Linked DNA regions of Homo sapiens: region 2 is linked to region 1. The links are contacts of gene promoters, found by promoter capture Hi-C in human tissues and cell types (Jung and others, 2019). All regions are on one chromosome and are shown on one strand. Each heading gives the region's core, a stretch centred on a gene start or on the middle of the fragment in contact. The rest is flanking DNA. Distances are from core to core; before and after follow the strand shown.

The links. The method cuts DNA at HindIII sites, captures the fragments that hold promoters and counts their contacts. A contact is called where the count stands out against the background at its distance.
Region 2: a contact is called between a fragment that was not itself captured here and the fragment with the promoter of GPX3 in region 1, in 1 of the 25 tissues and cell types used here (pancreas).

What each region holds. Positions count from the first base shown.
Region 1 is chr5:151,018,967-151,021,976 of GRCh38, reverse strand. GPX3 (glutathione peroxidase 3) reads right to left here and starts at 1,386. Exons shown (of 5, transcript NM_002084.5): 1 at 1,236-1,386. The coding sequence starts at 1,322. The HindIII fragment of the contact is 19,688 bases long and covers 1-3,010 here.
Region 2 is chr5:150,781,531-150,784,611 of GRCh38, reverse strand. The region is part of intron 1 of SMIM3 (small integral membrane protein 3); the gene reads right to left. Among named protein-coding and RNA genes, the nearest start is that of SMIM3, 4.3 kb to the right of the region's middle. The HindIII fragment of the contact is 5,049 bases long and covers 1-3,081 here.

The DNA of each region.
Region 1 (3,010 bases), core at 137-2,636:
TGCTTCCAATGGGCTTCCTGAGAAGTGGACAGAATTTTGGAAACGGAATCCTAGACTCATAAGAACTTAATTAAAGTGAAGACCCAGAGGATTTTAGAAACAAAAGCTCAGAGCTTGCAAAAATGTGAGTTATGCATGTTGGGAAGTTGGAGACAGAAATCGCTCGCTTTGAGTCTATCCCTACACCTGGCTTCTGCCTCCTTCCCCACCCACTCCCACTCCCTGGGTAGAGGAGAGGTCTACAGAGCCCACCCCAGTACATACTGTCAAAGGAGATAAGCATGCTGGGTCATCCCACTCCTGGCCTCAGTATCCCCACTCCAGGTGTGGGCCACACACCTGCTGGAAATAGACTGAGGCTCTAGAGAATTCTACCTCTTCTTCTGAATTAGCAGTCCCCAGCTTTCTCCAACTACCAGGTTTCCTCAGGCTAATGAGGACAGTGGGTCCTGGGTAGTGAGGCTGCCCCAGGGGAGGAAATTTCAGAGAACAGCTTGTGGATTTTTCAGCTTCTCCAAGCATCCCCTCTGAGGCCCTCAGCTTCATTGTGCCCCATGCACTCCCACCCCCAAACTCTCCCCTGCAGATGGAGAAACGGGGGTCCAGGAGCAGGTAAGGACTCAGGGTCCTGAGTGTTCTGCACTGTCACTCCAGAGCTCTTTCTAGCACAGATCTCTGCCTCTTCTACCAATGCCCTGAATCCAAGTGGCCATTTCTACCTGCCTGTATCATTCTTGGGGTAGAAGAGCCCCCCACAGCAGTTCTTCAGGACCAGGACCACCCAGCTGCCTCTCTCCTTTCTCCTTGTCTCTCTCCCTGGGAACTTGCACAGCCCACCCAGACGCTGGGCATTTTTTTCTGTGACGCCCTCCCTCTTAGGCCCTACTGAAGGGGAGCAGCTCAGGCACGGAGGTGACATAGATGTAGCAAGGCGACCCTCGAGGTGGCAGTGGGGAGAAAGTGCGAGCTCGGGGAGAGAGACCTTCCTCCCTTAGTCATTCTGCCCGCCTGAAGCACCAGGTCTCGGCTCTCCAACAGATGGAACTACGAGACGACGACGGTCGGGGGCGGGGTCCCGGCGGCGGAGGGGGCGGCAAAAGGGGTTCAGGAGGTCTCTCGCACCTGGGGATTGCCCATCTGGCGGGGAGCCTGGGAAAAGGGGTGCATTGCACTGAGCGCTGGACACCGAGGGGCTAGGTTTTTTCTCCCGGCCCCCGGCCCGGAGGCTCACTCACCTTCGACTTCTCTTGTCCCCGGCTCTGCGAGACGAAGCCGGCCAGGAGCAGGGAAAGCAGGCAGGACGCCTGCAGCAGCCGGGCCATGGCGGGGTGGGGGCACACTCAGGGTCGCCTGAGCCGCTGCCTGATCCCTGGCCACCGTCCGTCTGAGGTGTCCGGCGCTCCCAGCCACCTTTCAAGCCCTCGGGTGTGACCAATCCGCGGCCAAGCCGAGACCCTTGCAGCCAATCGCTAGGCGGCTGGGATTTCAGGGGCGGGCGCGACTTGCCCTCAGCTCCCCACCTCCCCGTCCCGGGGCGACAGTGACATAAGCAAATCTGGGCAGAGAGGTGGAAGTCAGGTCCCTGTGGACGTGGGAGGCGGTCCCTTCCTCTTTTGGCTCCAAAGTGCGAAAGGAGGCAGACACAGCGGTCTCCATTACAGCCAGGGCAAGGGGGCTAATAGCTCCCTAGAACTGATGGAAGTCTCCATTCTGGGAAGCATTTCTTATTCCTATCGAGGTTTTAAAAACACCTGGCGATGGTCCTCTGGAAATTGAGGGTTTAAAATTTCAGCAAGAGCTGAAGTTAAACTTCCAGAAACATTTACTATATATAGGTTTAGTGCTTAAGAAACAAAGAGTGGGTGTCCTGGGATTTTGAAAACCCCATTCTGGGTAGGGCATTAGGACTGTAGGGACAGAGAAGGTGGGGTGCCTTTCCTCCCCATCATAAGGATCACAGCTGACATGCCTGTAGAAAAAGGTTAGCAAGAGAAAAGCATAACGATTTATTTAATTAAAGTTTTCTGTGACATGAGAGTCTTCAGAAATGAAGACCCAAAGACTCAAGGAAAACTCTATTTTTAGGCTTAGATTCTATGAAGACCATGGAAATGCGCAGAAATGTGAGTGGGGAAAAAGGGAATGGTCTAATAGTAATAAACTGAGTGGGAAACCCAGCAAGGCTTGTCTGTTCGTATTCTTCTTGGCCTATCTGTGGCCAAACCACCTGGCTTAGAAGCAGAAAATAAATTTGCTCCCTGTGTAGTCTTTAACATGTTGCAGTTACTCTCTGGGCCTCAGTTTCCTCAGCTATGTAATGATGGGATTGATTAGTGATCTCCAGTGCCCTTCTGGCTCTGGCTAGATGACTTGTTTCTAAAGTAAGTGACAGACGGAGACCAGGAGTCCTTTGAGAATAGGGCCCATAATCACCACCTGGCACAGGGCCTAGCACACAAGAGATGTAAAGTATTTGCTGACTTAATCATTCATTACATTAAAAAAACAAAATCTCCATGGAACACTTAGGATCAGACCAGGCAGTTCTAGGGCTGGGCTGTCTAGGTATGATCCCGTTCACAGATGGGGAATGTGATGGAATCAGTCTCAAATCTCTCTGACCACCAGAGTCAACTGGGAAGCCTTTAATACAGATTCCTGGACCCCACTTTGGAATCACTGCATTAGAATCTCTAGGGGCAGAAGCTGAAAATCTGTCTTCAGACATGTTCTAAGGTTATTGTGAGGCAGTTGGCCTGGCTGTAGCCTTGGTAGTGTGAGTCCTAGGATTAAGTGCCTTCTGGAACTTTCTTCTGACCAAGAAATGCCTTGAGAAACCATACCTTTACTATGATTAAAGGTATTAACATCCCCCTGGGAATTTGGAAGATGTCTCTCAAGTTTTGCATTCTCTACGAAGTCTTCCCACCTCAAACCACAGCCTGTTGAAGTGGAAGGAACCACAGAGGCCAGGAAGTCTTTAGCTGAGTTAAAGCCTGGGAGCATATGA
Region 2 (3,081 bases), core at 456-2,955, 240 kb after region 1:
ATAAGGCCAAGTAGACTTTTAGGCAGAAAGTATTACTAAAGATACCAAAAAGGTAAAGTGATTTTCTATTTTTAGGTACCTAATCTCAGAATTATAAGGAGAAATAGACAAATCTGCAATTATAGTGGGAGATTTCAAGATGTCTCTCTCAGATCTTGTGGGGAAAGGCAGGATGAGCAGAATAGATGTTATCAACAAAGCCCAGAGTTGATGAGATACATGAAGTGTTGGAAGCATATGGAGTCCTGGTGGCTTTGGCAAGAGGTTTAACCTCTTTGAGCTTTAGTCTCCTAATTTGTAAAATGGAAATAATAACTAATAATTGTAACCACTTCATAGGGATGCTCTGGAGGTTAAATGAGCTAATGCGCATAAAGCACTTAGGACAACGTCTGGTACACAGTAAGGGCTTCACGAAGTTAAGCTGAGCTAGTGAACCCGGCATCGTTCCTAAATCACAAGGTCAAGAGATGGAGACCATCCTGGCCAACATGGTAAAACCCTGCCTCTACTAAAAGTACAAAAATTAGCTGGGTGTGGTAGTGCACACCTGTAGTCCCAGCTACTCGGGAGGCTGAGGCAGGAAAATCGCTTGAACCCAGGAGGTGGAGGTTGCAGTTAGCCAAGATCACACCACTGCTCTCCAGCCTGGTGACAGAGTGAGATTCCGTATCAAAAAAAAAAAAAAAAAAAAAAAGGGAGTTCAAAGCCTCTGCCATTAGTTAGGGTGCCGTGACTGCTTCGTGACTGATCTGGGCCCAATGTAGGAAACCACAGTGAAAAGTTTTTTTAAGTAAAAAAATTTTAAGCTGTCCCCAGCTTGAACCTCCCACCGGAAACTTACACCCTCCACATCCGAGCTGCAACTAACAGTCAACTTTTGAGAGCTTGCCAATGGTTATCCAACCGGTTTTACTGCCAGAGTTCACTGAGGAAGAAGGCAATAAAAGAAGTGACTGCCTGCTGGCAGGCAAGCTTAATTATCTCAAAGTGGGAGACAAGGCAGATAGAGGCAGGTGGCTTCCTGCAGGTGTGGCCTTAGCCCAGCACTGCCAGAACTCTGGGCAGACCATGCTGCTGCTGTTTTGTTTCCACCAGCCACGGTGGCCAGAGAGCAGACAGCTATAACCAGCTCCAAGTCACTGATGCTGAGGCGTCCAAAGATACATGACTCTTCAAGTATTTTGCAGAATGTGAACAAGGCTGATGGTTCCCAGGGCACAGGACTAGAGGGTTTGCCAGCATTGTCCACCTTATAGGACCCCTTCCAAAAAGTCTCCACCCTCAGAAGATGCTGCTGAGGTTGTCAAGGAAGAATGGAACATTTAAGCCAGAGAGGGCAATTCAAGTTCCTAGATGGGGCCACACTGGCCACTTTGTAGCCTGGGGAACCTAACAACTGTGTCCCAGGGGCTGATCCCACTTGAAGAACTTTGTGTTTGCTGTTCCTTCTCAGAATGCTCTTTTCCTCCCCTGTCCATTGTCTCAATGTCCATGACCTCAACCTAAATGTTACGTTTTAGTAAAGTTTTTCCCGACCCACTCTGTTAAACTATCACTCTTATCTTGTTTTATTTTCTGCATATGCTTTTCACAATCTAAAATTAGCTTGTTTGTTGCTTGTTTGTTTTTATTGGCTTTTTTCCTATCAGGCTAAAGACTTGTTCATTTGCTCCCTCAAACGCAAGCACAGGGAGAGCAGAAGCCTCACCTCTTGTGTATTGCTGTGTCCTCAGCACCTATCACAGGGCCTGGCATATCACAAGTGCCAACAAATATGAAATCAATGAAGAAATGAATATGGGAAGATTATTTCAGATGTGAGCTCACTCGTGGAACCTAATTGACTGAAGAGGTCCAGAAAGAATCCTCATCCCTGCAAAAGTCCCAGTGATTCTAAAAGTCAGAACACTATCTCCAAAATAACATGATGTCCTCTGATTTTATCATTTTCTGGGCTCTTTGTACATTCAGGAAGGATTATGGGGGGCTCTTTCTTCCCCAGCCCACCCTGTACATACCAGGCAGAAGAGAACTGGCCTTTCAGAACGAAGCCCTCTAGGATTCCCACTTGTTGATTTGCTTGGGCCGATAAGCTCAAATTCGAGTTCTGACTCCATGTGCTCAGGAGCTGGGGACTGAGGTGGGGAGGAGGGACCAGGGGTGAGGGGAGCAGTGATGTTGCCCAAGATGTGAATCTTTCTGTTCTTAGAAGAGGTCAGGGAGGCTGATAAAAGTGGGGGCAGGTTTCCCATGCCAAGTCCAATATGAGAAGGACATACCAGCTTCACATTTACTCTTGGAAGTATTTCTCCTCCCACTGTGTAACAGCCTCAAACATTTACCAACCCAGCACAGTCATTTCACCAGGGACCTTTGGTCCAAATAAAGGGGCCAGAGGAAGGAATGGACAGGACATACAACTACCAAAAATGTGAAATGAATCAAATCACAGCCTTTTCTCCAATGACCCAAAGTCCCTAAGGAGCACTCTGTTCTCATTTCACCCCAACTGGCCCCTGTCTCTCCAAACTTCCTAACAGACTACAGACCTGCCTGAGTTTCCATCTGCTCCTCTGTGGCTGGAAAAATGGAAAAACACCAAGATATTTCAAAGAGATCGGAACACAGCCAGAGCTGTGTAAGACCGCACGTACCATCTGACCCAGCCAATCACAGAGTCTTAGAAACCAACAGAGAGCTAGCAGAGGAGAAAGCCCAGGCCAAATCCCCAGCATCCTGTTTAAGGCACTACTATCCATCATTGCTATTTGCCAGTGACTAAGTGCCTGCTGTGTGTCGGGCTAACAAAGGAGACTGTCCATGAGAGGTGCTGGCAGGGTGCTCCGTGACAGAGCTGCAAGAGCACCGGGCGGTGGTAGTGCCTTGCCTCAATGTGTGAGCCTCAACAGGTCGCTCTCCCAAAGTCAGCCTCATGTGTGTGGAAAGCAGAATAATGCCCACCACCACCACCACCAAAGACATCTATGTCCTGGTCCCCAGAATCTTGAATATGATCCTATATAGTGGGTCACTAGCAAGAAACATATCCAATCAGCCAATCAGAGTGCAAATCAATAA